2 separate regions of the Homo sapiens genome follow, and region 1 is linked to region 2. Evidence: promoter capture Hi-C in 16 types of primary human blood cells and fetal thymus (Javierre and others, 2016). All regions are on one chromosome and are shown on one strand. Each heading gives the region's core, a stretch centred on a gene start or on the middle of the fragment in contact. The rest is flanking DNA. Distances are from core to core; before and after follow the strand shown.

Region 1 (7,508 bases), core at 1,733-4,232, 530 kb after region 2:
AAAACCACAGAACCAGGACACTCTTGTTCAGCTCAGCCTCTCTTCCGTCTGCACAGATTTGGCTCCATGGGACCCATCGCACGGAGGACCGGCGCTTCCTTACCCAGTTAACGGGAAGAGAGATGCAGTAATCTTTTAAAAAGCTGTCATTGCTATGGAAACGGTTTTCGCCATTGCCAATGGCAGCAGTATCCTCCTACCACATTCCAAGGACACGCTGCTCCTCCTGATCAGAACATTAACACAATCCCACCAGCACATGCTTTCCCTGATGTTTTTTCAGGAAAGCTGCGGTGATTTGGCCGCTCCCTCCCTGGAATAACCGGTGCCCTGAGCCCCCGGGGAGATGAGAGGAACTAAGGCCAGGAGCCCCCGCAGCTGCTGCTGCTGAGCCCAGAGGCAGGCAGGAAGGGGGCCTCTGCTATCCAAGAGTTTCCCCAGTGAAGAGATTCCAGGGTCTCCCAAGGTTTCCTAATTCCAAATCCAGTGGCCTCTTCCCATGTCTTGTCCTCCCTTACGTGCTTCAGTATTTGATACCAGCCCTACTTCCTTCTTTTCTCTTTCCTCTCTGGGTGGCTGTGACTGTCCTCAGTCCAGCTCTCTCCTCCCTCTCCCCCGCTCCAACTGCTCCTCCTCTGTAATGTTCCAAAGATTGTCTTCAGCTCTAGGCCAGGGATTGAGACAGCGCGGCTGACTGGGGAAGACACACCCACACGCCCCCAGGAAGACCCCTGAAGAACCTCTGCGGATGGGGTGTCCTCAGTCTCTAAGCCCTGGGAAGCTTGTCTTTTAATCCTAATAACCTCCCCTTTCCTACATGTGCCAAAATTAAACCGTTCAAGACTTTCCAAATATAAAATTCTGCTATCCAGGATTTATCAAAGCAAGACTTTCCTTTCCTTTCTTCTTCTTTTTTTGTTTTGTGCCCCAGGTGCTCAACTACGTTCAGTCCGACCACCAGGGAATCCCACCCTGTGCAGACTGTGCTCCAGACCAGGAATCCTAAGTGAGCAGCGTGGTCTCACTATGCGGAAACCCAGCTGATCTTGTAAACTTGTTATTGCCTTGGCCGAAAGTGGATGTCAGAGCAAAGTCCAAATCAGCTCAGAAATACCCAAGTGATCTGCACATCACAAGACTGCTTCTGATAAGATGTGACATTTACCGGTGACATGTCCAGCAACAGCAACAAAGAACCAGAGAAGGCTCACAAAGCTGACCCTGGAACGGGAAGTTTGCTTGCCTTCCCCAAGCTTGCTGCTGTGTGTTGTTTACTTTCTAAGTTGCACGGTGACCTCATCTCTATGCTGTTCTCTAATTTGTTCACCTGGCCGCGTTACTCTCTAACTGCTCTGGTGCCTTTCATGGAGATAACTTCGCGGCTCCCCTTCTCCACCCCATGATTCACACAATAGAAACTTCACAGAGAGCCAACCTGCTGCACACCCACAGCAGCACCCTGAGGGACAGAGTGTGTGGCACACACACGTGGACCCACAGTCAACACCACAGACATCCACGTGTCACCAGAACACACTTGTGCACACCACAGACCAACATGGACTCAAGACGCCCTGTATTTCTCCTGTCCCAAGTGTAAGGGAATAATTATGTGACCAAGCTCACCGCTTGCCATCGGTCCTAACTCTAAATTCCATGAGAGGGGACCTGAGCCTGGGAGGCTCTCAGTGTTTGTGAAACAAACAAATGATACACAGGCATGTGCAAACCCAAACCAGCTCACCTTCATGCAGCCACACGGCGTCCAGAGAGCCGTTTCATTGACATGATCTCATTTCATCTTTGCCAGGAGCAGTGAATCAGATGGGCTAACAGTGGGGCACTGAGGCTCCGGACCATTAAGAGACACGCCCAAGGTCACATAGCCGGGAAGCAGAGAGCTGAGACTCTCCCACTTCTCCCGATTCAAATCCTACATTCTCTATTCTACACCAAATGGCCTCATGTAAGCATAGATACACATGCACGCACTTACACATGGACTTAGGGGAGAAACCTGCTATTTCACACTGATGGAGGTAATCACAGTCACATACACACCTACCATGACCTATGCACATGGAGTCACACAATCACGTGTGCCTAGGTATAGACACCCATGCCCTCCCCACCCCATTCTGTCCTCTATCCAAGACCACGGGCAATGCAACACTGTGTGAGGAGTCGGTCAGGACTGTGGGTTATAATCCACCTCCCAGCCTCTACATTCCCATCCAAGAGAGCAGTAGACCATGAGTTATTTTAATAAGATTTCCCCATTCTTGGACTAACTTCCAAAAACCTTAAAACTCATAGAACCTTAATTTAACCATAGGTCATAATAACACCTCTCATTTATCAGGGGGTTCCCTCATGTACCTTCACATAAAGTCTATAACTTGACCTCTACCACATCCTGAGGGAAACTAGCAGGTGAGCTATGTAATGCTGCCCCATCCTACAGACAAGAAAACTGAGGCCCAAGGAAGTGAAGTTCCTTGCTCAGGGTGGCGGCTAATAAGCAGGATTGGGACTTGAATACAGAGTTTTAAGTCCGAGTGAGCCCAGAGCCCTTTGAGAAACACCCCGTTGAGATAATGTCATTGAACCTTGCTCCCTCTTTTTAGAGATAAGAAAACTGATCCCCCACCTCCACCCCCATTGCCTCTCTGGGAGGGCCCAGCATGCTGGAAGCAGCATTGGGACTGGACTCTTGGTTTGACACCCAGGACTAAACTCTTCTCCGGACCCCAAGATACATACCCACTGCTCCCGCCCCCAAAGGAGAGGGTATTGTTCAACCAACCTTGGACCACAGAAATCGCTTCTGTCCTGAACACCCTGGGCTGGGATCTTCAGACAAGAGGTCTCTGTGTTAGGCTCTGCTCCCTGTCAGCTGGAAGTTGTGTCCAGTGAGAAGTCAGACCCAGCTCTCCCAGGGAGAAGATGCCACTACTTTGGTGCTGGCAATTTTCTGAGTGTCTCAGAAGATGCTTTGGCCGTCCATATATACAGTATCTCCCAGGAACTGAGCTCATGGCAGCCAATCCAGAGAGCCATGGGCTGGCTCACCTTCCTCCACCTGTTACCACCCATCCCAGGACTGCTCCCCGCTCCTCCAATGATAAGAGGCTTAGCTCAGCTACCCTGGAAAAAACAGTTTCACTTGTCAACTTCCTTATTGCACCCAAACCCCAGTAAGAAACCAAAGCTCAGAAAATAACCTAAGGTCTGGCTGGGGAAAACCCCACCTGTAGAGTTGAAAACAAGACTTAATGGGAAATGCAGGTTAGGGGGAGAAAGTCGAGGTGGCTTTATTGCCTTTACAACATCCCTCAGTTATCTTTGAAGATTAGTGGGGAGGGAGGTACCTAGAAAGAAAGGTCAGCGATGGGATACATACATCCCTTGACCTGGAGACAACCCAGAAGGAAGAGCCCACAAGAGCCACGTGTTCCAGATCTGCTATGCCCGGGAAGGGTTGCCATGGATCTTGAGAGAACATTCTAAGAAGTCTTAAAAAGTCAGATTTCCACTTTCTGTAATGCCTTATTTTAAAAAATAGAGTGTAAATACATGTTTATAATCAGAAAAGAAAAACATGTTTTATTAAAATGAAAGCAAAGGCCGGGCACGGTGGCTCACACCTGTAATCCCAGCAATTTGGGAGGCTGAGGCAGGCGGATCACCTGAGGTCAGGAGTTCGAGACCAGCCTGGCCAACATGGCGAAACTCCATCTCTACTAAAAATACAAAAATTAGCCAGGTATGGTGGCAGACACTTGTAATCCCAGCTACTTGGAAGGCTGAGGCAGGAAAATCACTTGAACCCAGGAGGCAGAAGTTGTAGTGAGCTGAGATCGTGCCACTGCACTCCAGCCTGGGTGACAGAGTGAGACTCTGTCTCAAAAAAAAAAAAAAAAAAAAAAAGAAAAAAAAAGAAAAAAATATTAAGAAATTCTGTTTTGGTTCATTAACACAGGGAGGCATCACAAAATATATATGGAAGCACCAAACTTTGGAGTCAGCCCCATCTGGAGACACCTGCCAGCTGTGTAACCACAGCAGGGGACATGATGTCACTGAGCTTGTGCTCACTTATAAAACAAGTAGTCATCTCAGAGGGTAGTTGGGCCAAATGCGATAATGCTTACAAAGAAAAGAAGAAGGCCAGGCATGGTGGCTCACATCTGTAATCCCAGCACTGTGGGAGACCAAGGTAGGAGGATTGCTTGAGCCCAGAAGTTCAAGACCAGCCTGGACAACATAGTGAGATCTTATCTCTACTAAAAATTTTAAAAATTAGCCAGGCATGGTGGCACATGCCTGTAGTCTCAGCTACTCAGGAGGCTGAGGCAGGAGGATTGCTTGAGCCCAGGAGGTCAAGGCTGCAGTGAGCCATGATCGTGCTACTGCACTCCAGCCTAGGCAACAGAGTGAGATCCTGTCTCAAAGGAAAAAAGAAGAAAGGAAGGAAAGGAAGGAAAAAAAGAAGGAAAGAAAGGAAGAAAGGGAGGGAGGGAGGGAGGAAGGAAGGAAGGAAGGAAGGAAGGAAGGAAGGAAAAAGAAAGAAAGAAAGAAACAAAGAAAGAGAAGGAAAGGAAGGAAGAAAGAGAAGGAAAGGAAGGAAGGAAATGTATGGAGTGCCAGACATCTTTCTTTCTGTGTATTAACAGTGCCTGGTACTTGTAAGGGCTCAATAAAGGGCCAATGTTTTATTACGGGCAACAGAGTTATTAATGCTTCATTCATTCTGTCAACAGGTTTTGGATCCAGCTATGTGACAGACACTGTCTCAGCACTAAATTTAGAATTTATTAGTCCAAGAAGTCACTCAGCCTTCAAACAAATGTTAAATAATATTACATATTTTTCATTTATTTAATGAAACTATTGTGTCAACCACTTCTTCCAGGCCCTGTGTGTATTGTATGTGTTCTTTCTTATTCCAAGGTGAATATGCCCAGCCTGGCCCAGCCCTCATGGAGTCCATAAAGTAGTTGGGAAGAGAGAAACACACAGAGAAAAATCATACAAGCAAGCAGAAGGGAATAGGAAGTTGTTTAATGCGTACAGAGTTTCAGTTTGAGAGGAATGTGGTACCACTACCTCCACCATTCAACCATCTCCACAACTTTTGAGATGTGGAGGATTTTCACAAGGCACACTCAAACTCAACTTTTGAGTTTGGAGATGGTTCAATGGTGGAGAGTGGTACAACAATCAAAATGTGCTTAATGCCACTGCACCGTACACTTTAAAAAGGTTACAACAGTCAACTTTATGTCATGCATATTTTACCACAATAAAAAGAAGGGGAGGGGCAGACAGCCACGTGGCACACCGTGCAGACATCTCCCATGTACCCAGCAATCCCATCTGCAGGTACATACGCTCCTAGGTTCTCACGGGAGGGAGAACCATCATGGGCAGCTCTGGGCATCCCACGCCTTCTCCATCAGGGGTCCGGGGGGCAACCTAGCCCTGTGCTCAGTGCCTGCCAAAGACCATATCCTGGAGACGATCTCCACGATCTGGAGACAGACTCTGGCAGCTGCCTGTCCCAGGGCCAAGGTCGGCTACACTACGAGTGAGCCCCCATGCAAAATGAAAACAAAGCACCCTTGTTCAAAACGTATTAATAGTTTCAAGACAGACAGCAGAACATTAAACCAAGCCCCCTGCCCTTCTGAGTGCACACCCTGTGCAACAGTCCAGGTCACACAGCCTTGAAGGGGGCTCTGAAGGTGACAGTTCCCAACCATGTGCTGGGAGGGAAGATGGCAGAGGGAGAGAGAGGGAGATTGAGAGAGAATATCTTTAAAATTTTTATTTAAGTATAACGTATAAAAAGGTGCACAGATCACAGGCAGACAGCTCAATGAATTTTCACGAAGGGAATAAACCTGTGTAACCACCACCCAGATGAAGAAAGAGAACATTCCTGGCACCCCAGAACCCACCTTGTTGCCCTCACGACTCCCAGATTAGATTAGTTTTGCCTATTTTTGAGCATCATCGGTCTGCATGTTTTCTTTTATGCCTGGCTTTTCTCACCGCATGTCTGCGGGACTCAGCCATACTGCTGTGCTGTCATTCTCAGACGGACAATCCCAAGTGTCAGAGCCCATGTGGGGCAAACAGAATTCTCATACGCTGCTGGTGGGAGTGGAAAATGGTGCAACTACTTGGAAAAATCGGCTGGCAATATCTATCAAAGCTGAACAAACACCTGCCCTGTGACCCAGCAATTCCACCCCCAGATAGATACACAACAGAAATGCATCCCCATGGCCCCCCGAAACAACTTTGATATGAATGTGTATATCAGTGCTGTTTGTGAGAGCCAAACTCTCAAAAACTTGAAACTACTTAAATGCCCATTAACAGGAAAATGTACAAACAGTGGCATATTCACACAATTGAGATTTTGTTGTTGTTTTTTCCAGAGAGTCTGTACATTTGTTTATAAAGATTTTTCACCCGCTTGTGTGGGCTGCGTGTGCAGCACGGGGCACGGAAGATAAACGTGGTCTTGGATAAAAATGATGGTAGCCAACGGAGAGGAGTGGGTGGAACACAGGGCCCCAGTCTCAGGAGCGCGGGATTTGGCGGTTCTGAGTAACAAACCTAAGAAGGATTTTCACAAGGCACACTCTAACCTCTCTGAGTGTGAACGCTGCTTCCCAGAAATCCGTCCCCATCCCGGCAGAATTATCTACATATGGAAATGAGCCTGGATCTTCATTTGCTCTGCGGCTCTTGTTCACCGCAGAGCAAAGAGCAAGCTGGTGAACTCTCACTCCTTTCCCGGGCCACACCCTCTGCCTGGAGCCTGCTAATTCGAGGTCCAGCCTCCAACCCACCGGCCTTCCCTAAGTCTCCTTCAGTGTCCTCAGTGAGAGGTGCCGGAAAGGCTATGACCTCACTCCTTCCCAAGCCCCGTCAGAACCCAGAACCAGAGTCTCCAGCCCGAAAATAGCCTCAGAATATCCCCTCGGTTGCTGTGTGCGATGCCTGATTTAGGTCTTGTGCCGGAAATGCTCAGTGAATCTCAGTTCCCCTCCAGATTCCCCTGCCTCGTGGCTCCCAGCGACTCCTAGACTCTCCTCCGCCTCAGCTGTCTGTGGGTCCCTGCTGCAAGCGGGGGCCTCGAGTGCCCGTCCCCACGGAGTGGGAAAGCTGTGGCTTTGACATTAGGCAGAGCTGCGCTGCAGCTCCGGCTGCCTACCCCCAGGGGGCGCGCTGGTGATCGCAATGACAACGGCCATTCGCAAAATGGTTACCAGACCTCAAGCCCGTAGCACGAGCTTCTAAATACATGATTTTTGCCCACAATAATATTCATAAAGAATATATTGTTATTTTACAGATCAGGAAATTAAGGCTCAAAAAGATAAAATAGGCCGGGTGCGGTGGCTCACACTTGTGATCCCAGCACTTTGGGAGGCTGAGGCGGGCGGATCACTTGAGGTCAGGGGTTCAAGACCAGCCTGGCCAACATTTCG
Region 2 (7,271 bases), core at 1,168-3,667:
AGTAATAGGAGAAAATATTAACATTATAATGCTAAGTGAAAAAAATGTACATACGGCCGGGCACGGTGGCTCATGCCTGTAATCCAGCACTTTGGGAGGCCGAGGCAGGTGGATCACCTGAGGTTGGGAGTTCGAGACCAGCCTGACCAACATGGAGAAACCCTGTCTCTACTAAAAATACAAAGTTAGCTGGGTGTGGCGGCCATGCCTGTAATCCCAGCTACTCAGGAGGCTGAGGCAGGAGAATCAGTTGAACCAGGAAGGTGGAGGTTGCCGTGAGCCAAGTTCGCGCCACTGCACTCCAGTCTGGGCAACAAGAGCAAAACTCTGTCTCAAAGAACAAAAAACAAAACAAAACAAAAAACTAGCTGGGCATGGCAGTGCATGCCTGTAATCCCAGCTACTTGGGAGGCTGAGACAGGAGGATCGCTTGAACCAGGGAGGCGGAGGTTGCTGTGAGCCAAGATCATGCCATTGCACTCCAGCTTGGGCAACAAGAGTGAAACTCTGTCTCAAGAAAAGTAAAATAAAAATAAAATAAAATAAAATAAAATAAAATTGTACATACATCATCCAATTGTGTAAAGGAGTATGTTCAGAAGGGGGAAACTGCAGAGATTAACAATGGTAATAATAATAATCACCAACATTTTTGAGTACTTTCTCTTTTTTTGTTAAAGCCCAGACTGGAGTGCAGTGGTGTGATCATGGTTCACTGCAGCCTCGACCTCCTGGGCTCCAGTGATTCTCCCACCTCAACCTCCCAAGTAGCTGCGACTACAGGCAAGCACCACCATGCCTGGCTATGCCTGGCTAAGTTGTGTATTTTTTGTAGAGACGGGAGTCTTGCTATGTTGCCCAGGCTAGTCTAGAATTCCTGAGCTCAAGTGATCGGACTGCCTGGCCTCCCAAAGTGCTGGGATTAGAGACCACTAATGTACCTTTGAGCACTTTAAAAAAAAAATTATTATTATTATTTTTTGAAATGGAGTTTTGCTCTTGTTGCCCAGGCTGGAGTGCAATGGTGCGATCTCAGCTCACTGCCACCTCTGCTTCCCGGGGTTCAAGCAATTCTCCTGTCTCAGCCTCCTGAGTAGCTGGGAATACAGGCACCCGCCACTACGCCCGGCGTAAGTGCATTTCCTGCATTTAATAGATGGCGAAACTGAGGCTCCGGAAGGAAGGTTAAGTCCATGGATGGTTACTTAGTAAGTAGCTCATTCAAATCCAGGCCTGTTGAACCCCAAAGTCCATGTTTTTAAGATTGTCTTGTCTTTCCTTAGCTCCGGACGTTGGTGTTATTATTATTATTATTTTTTTTTTTTTGAGACGGAGTCTTGCTCTGTCACCCAGGCTGGAGTGCAGTGGCGCGATCTCGGCTCACTGCAAGCTCCGCCTCCCGAGTTCACACCATTCTTCTGCCTCAGCCTCCCCAGCAGCTGGGACAACAGGCGCGTGCTGCCACGCCCGGCTAATTTTTTTGTATTTTTAGTAGAGACGGGGTTTCACTGTGTTAGCCAGGATGGTCTCGATCTCCTGACCTCATGATCCGCCTGCCTTGGCCTTCCAAAGTGCTGGGATTACAGGCGTAAGCCCCACGCCCAGTGGAATTTTCCTAGTTCTTTACACTAGCCATGTATTTACCTATAAAATCAGGAGAAATATGTATATATATAATATATTAAAACATATATATATTTAAATGGGGAAATATGTAACAAACAAATAGAAACAAGGGGAGAAAGGCATTGTATTTGACAAAACACATATGTTCAGGTCTGAGAAGGCTCATAAAGAATGTTGTCTGCTATACTTTGTAGTTGCTTCTGTTATCACACAATCAGTCTGCATATACAGGCGTTTTATATATATATTTATATAGACTACATATATACGTATATTATATATGTAAATATTTCACTGTCTTTGAGGACGGGGGCCCTGTCTTTTTTATCTGTGGTTTTGCTTAGATGTCCTCCAACATAATCTTAACACATAGTATGCTTTTAGAAATCGTTGACTGAATGCTAAGGACGAAAAACCGGTGACCAGAAGGCAACCAGGAAAGGCTTTGCTGACCTCCGGAGTGGTGGAGTTGGAGGTTCTGGGAAGGCGACTAGGGAGCCAGGCAGGGGCGGGGTGGGATGGGATGTGGACAGCGCTTTTGCGGGGGGAAAGCGTTTTTGCTGCTGGAATTGAGCAGTAGGAATGTGTCAGTCACATCCCCACCTTCCCAATTCTTGTCATCTCGGTTCAGGAAGGTGAACGGTGTTCCGATTCCCCGCGGCGGGGGCCTGTAGTGGGAGCTCTGCCCCTTCCCCGCCTCTGCTGCAGGCCCCGCCCCTCGCCCGGAACCCCGGGGCGCTGGCCGCGGTGCTGAAACGGCGCCCTCCGCGGACGGAGGAGGGGGCGGGGCTCTCGGGAGCCGTGAGCCGGGAAGAGGGAGACGGGCAGGGCGGCGCCAGCAGGCCCTGGTGGGCTTGGGAGGAGGCAGGAGACTGGAGACAGCCTCGGCTAGAGCGGACACAGGCACCTGGCAAGCTTTCCTTGACCAAATCAAGGTTGTCCTTGTCCTATTAAGCCTCTTCCCCTTGCCTTGAAGGGACCTCACCTGGTGCCCTGACCTCAGCCTCCTCCCCAAACCCCGCTGGGGAGTGACCTGCTTCTAGGCCTCCATCCACAAAGCTACGGACTTGCAGCCCACGGGACCCCAGCCCAGGGCCTGCTGCCCTCACCATGGTGAAATTGCTGCCGGCCCAGGAGGCAGCCAAGATCTACCATACCAACTATGTGCGGAACTCGCGAGCCGTGGGCGTGATGTGGGGTACCCTCACCATCTGCTTCTCCGTACTGGTCATGGCCCTCTTCATCCAGCCCTACTGGATCGGCGACAGCGTCAACACACCGCAGGCAGGCTACTTCGGCCTTTTCTCCTACTGCGTGGGTAACGTGCTGTCCTCCGAGCTCATCTGCAAGGGCGGCCCCCTAGACTTCTCCTCCATCCCCTCTAGAGCCTTCAAGACTGCCATGTTCTTTGTGGCCTTGGGCATGTTCCTCATCATTGGCTCCATCATCTGCTTCAGCCTGTTCTTCATCTGCAACACGGCCACAGTCTATAAGATCTGTGCATGGATGCAGCTGGCTGCGGGTAAGCAGAGATGGTGGGAGGGCAGGCAGGGGCCCACCCCGGGGCCACAGCTGCAGCTGCACCATCCCAGCCTCTGCCAGGGCTCTGGGCCTTAAATTTAGCTGTTCTCCTATAGCCCAGTCCTACTCAGTGCTCTGCAGAAGATTCTGAGGAGTTGAGAATCTTAAAATGGCAGAGGCAGAAAAGACCTTAGAGACCAAGCTGTCCAACCCTCTCATCCTACAGATGAGGTTCTGAGCCCAGAACCTCATCTGAGCCCAGAACCTCATCTGTAAGGGGAAGTGACTTGCCCAGGAGCACACAGTTGCCAGTCCTGATTCCCAGGCCATCACATCAGTTTTTGCAGCTGTGAGAGAGAGAAAGAAGGAAGCTTCCATTGTTGGCCATGTGGGAATAGGACTCAACCCTAGCACAAAGTAGTGACACCAGTCAAGCACATTCTAGATGCCTTCATCTCCCACCTCTGGGCTTTTGTTCTTTTTAAGAGTGCCCAGAACTCTGTCCTCATTCTCTCTCTCCCACTCCAAACTGCTCTCAGATTCTAAGGTCTCTTGCTGATTTTGGAGTGTTACTATTATGCAGGGTATGACCTTGCCTATAGAAACTTTCATCTAAATTCCCCTCTTTCATTGTGGAGTGAAAGTCTTTTTTCCTTGATCATGGGATTTTATACTTAAGGCAGCAAATGGAGTGATATTTTGTGAGGTAGAGGAAGCTATTTAGGGTCCTTTTGTTGTTGTTGTTGTTTGTTTGTTTTTTGAGACAGAGTCTCACTCTTTGGCTCAGGCTGGAGTGCAGTGGCATGATCTCAGCTGACTGCAGCCTCAACCTCCTTGGACTTAGGTGATCCTCTCACATCAGCCTCCCAAGTAGCTGGGACTCCAGGTGCGCACCACCATGTCTAGCTAATTTTTTTTGTATTTTTTGTAGAGACGGGGTTTTGTCATGTTGCCCAGGCAGGTCTTGAACTGCTGGGCTCAAGTGATTTGCCTGCCTCAGTCTCCCAAAGTGTTGGGATTTCAGATGTGATCCACAGCACCTGGCCTAGGGTCCTTTAAAACAATGTGGGGGCTGGGCACAGCGGCTCACACCTGTAATCCCAGCACTTTGGGAGAGAGCATCACTTGAGCTCAGGAGTTTGAGACTAGACTGGGCAAGATGGAAAGACCCTGTCTCTAAAAATAATAATAATAATAATAAATAAAATAAAACAAATAAAACTGTGGGGTAGGCAGCTACTTGTGCCTTGAGGCAAAACCTCCCTGGTCCTTTTTCCTGCTTCTAGCTCAGGAAGGCTTCTTGGTCCTTGTGCCAAGTGGTCTTGCTCTTCTCTGTAGCCCAGGAAGAGGGTTAAGACCTTGTGCTGCAGCCTCTGGTACCTTGGTCCCTGCACACCTCAGGGGCCACAAACTGTCCATGTCGGTGAGATGTCCAGGAGTAGTGCCGGGGACTGGAAACTAGAGTGAAACCATCTCATTGGTCAGAATGAGAAGTGCTGTCATCTTTAAGAGGGAGACTGAAACAGGCATCTGAATCCCAGACCACCAAACATGCAGATTCAAGACTGCAGAGTTGGAGGGGACCCCAGAGAGCTATATCCACCCCCCAACTATAGATGAGGAATCTGCTGCTGAGAGAAAGGACCAGACTTGGCCAAGGCTGTAGCAGATCAGCAGGCACCTGAGGACCAGGAAGAATTAAGCGGGCAACTGAGGACCAAGGAACTAGATGTATTCCTAAGATGTTTTTACTGAGCCACATATTTACATAAGTATAATGATCTATGAAATATCTTTACATATAATATCTGGAGGAGCCCCAGCACAACCCATTGAGGTGGGTATTTATCTATTTTACAAAGAAGGCCCCTAGTGGGTAACTTGTCTTTGAGCATACAAGTAGGAAGGCATGCACCTTTGATTCCAAATCTTGCACCCAGGCTACTCACATGGCTTCAGAGTTCCCAGCAAATCCCCTTGCCACCTCCCTGTTCTCTGTAGTCTCTCTGTATGATAAGAGAGAGGCCGGGGCAGGGGTGGGCAGTGGGGAGCAAGGTAGGTGGTGGCCATGTCAAGAATGATGGTGGGGGCAGGCACAGCGGCTCATGCCTGTAGTCCTAGCACTTTGGGAGGCCAAGGAGAGGGGATTGCTTGAGGCCAGAAGTTCAAGACTTCAAGACCAGCCTGGACAACATAGTGAGACCCTATCTCTATTTTATATATATATATATATAAATTAAAAATAATCATAATAAATAATATATATAAATAAAAATAATAATAAGGCCAGCTGCAGTGGCTCAGGCCTGTAATCCCAGCACTTTGGGAGGGCGAGGTGGGCAGATTGCTTGAGCTCAGGAGTTCGAGACCAGCCTGAGCAACATGGCGAAACTGTGTCTCTACAAAAAATACAAAAATTAGCTGGGTTAATAAAAATATTGAGTATATATATATATATTCTTTACTATATATTCATTTTATACATATATATATATATATATATATATATATATATATATATATATGAACAAAGGGAAAATGAAGATTTAGTAGTTTTATGCCAAAGAGGAGTGAAATAGACCCTAATATGCTTGCCAGCTCTTCTTCCCTATCAGGGTTATGGGATGCTGGAGACACAACCATCTCTCTCATTCTCAGGGCTGTCTGCAAACCCCCCTTCCCTGAAACATCCCCCAACAGGTGCCATGTGTGAGCAGGCAGTGCCAGGAGGGGGAGGGGTTGACAGGCCATCTGAGTCAGACACTATCTGGGTAGAAAAGCTGGAGACACTGATAGCAGAGGTGGCCAGGTGCCATCTCATGCAACATTTATGTTAGGGAAGGCAAGACTGGTGTCATGTTCCATTCTGCTGTGCTGCGGAAGGGGAAATGAGCCGAAGGGAGAGATGCAGAGTGGGCGGGTCCCATATCCAGCAGCTGGGAGATACATCTATTCATTAGTACCCTTGCCAAGAAGCCTGGGAACAGGGAGGGGGCAGGGGCAAGGAGGACTGATGCTTGGGCGATGTGGGGCTGCAGCTTAACAAGATTAATTGGGCTTCTGGGTGCCAGGTGTAGGCTGGGAGTTGTCCCAGCTCCTAGAAACACAGGTAGACCAAACTGCTTGTCTTCTCTGAGTCTTGGTAACCTCATGTCTTAGTCAGTTTTACTTAGTTCTATTTAGTCAGGGCTGCCATAACAAATTACCATAGATTAGGGGGCTTAAAACAACAGAAATTCATTTCTCACAGTTCTGGAGCCTGGAGGTCTGAGATCTGGGTGCCGGCATGGCATTAGCACGAGATCTCTGATGAAGGCCTCTTCTAGGCTCTAGACTGCTGACTTCTTGATGTCCTCACATGGTGAAAAGAGGATGACAGGGCTCTCTGAGGTCCCTTTTATGTATTTATTTGCATTGATGATTATTATTATTGAGTCAAGGTCTCAAAAATGATTATTTTTACCCAGGCTGGAGTACAATGGCATGAACACACCTCATTGCAGCCTTGACCTCCCAGGCTCAAGTGATCCTCCCTCCTCAGCCTCCCGAGTAGCTGGGACTACAGGTGCATGCCAGCACACCCAGCCAATTTTTGTATTTTTTGTAGAGATGGGGTTTCACCATGTTGCTCAGGCTGGTCTGGAACTCCTGAGCTCAGGCGATCTGCCTGCCTCAGCCTCCCAAAGTGCTGGGATTACAGGCGTGAGCCACCGCACCCGGCCTTATTATTGTTTTTAATTGACATAATAATTGTACATATTTATGGGCTACAGTGTGATATTTCGATACATGTATACAAGCTGGGCTTGAAATCCAGGCAGCCTGATCTAATGTTTCCTAGCTTTTCCTACTGAGAAAATGAAGGTAATTAGCATATCCATCACCTCAAACACTTAAAACATTTCTTTGAGTTGGGACGATTTCAAATTTGCTGTTCCAGCTATTTGAAAATATACGATAGATTGCTGTTGGTTATACTCACTCTACAGTGCTAAAGAACACTAGAGCTTACTCCTCCTGTCTAGCTATACTTTTGTATCCATTAACCAACCTTTAGCTGCCCCCGCTCCCCTCTGGGGTCCCTTTTATAAGGGTTCCAATCCCATTCGTGGAGGGCCCTACCC

The links. Contacts are between HindIII fragments. The CHiCAGO score rates a contact against its expected background, and 5 or more counts as called.
Region 1: the fragment with the promoter of BNIP5 here is called in contact with the fragment with the promoter of LHFPL5 in region 2 in 2 of 17 cell types (total CD8 T cells and fetal thymus); the score reaches 6.7 in total CD8 T cells.

What each region holds. Positions count from the first base shown.
Region 1 is chr6:36,333,906-36,341,413 of GRCh38, forward strand. BNIP5 (BCL2 interacting protein 5) reads right to left here and starts at 2,983. Exons shown (of 12, transcript NM_001010903.5): 1 at 2,807-2,983. The HindIII fragment of the contact is 11,027 bases long and covers 1,252-7,508 here.
Region 2 is chr6:35,802,935-35,810,205 of GRCh38, forward strand. It overlaps LHFPL5 (LHFPL tetraspan subfamily member 5), which reads left to right and starts at 2,418. Exons shown (of 4, transcript NM_182548.4): 1 at 2,418-3,148. The coding sequence starts at 2,737. RefSeq lists a silencer at 2,287-2,456. The HindIII fragment of the contact is 6,136 bases long and covers 1-2,539 here.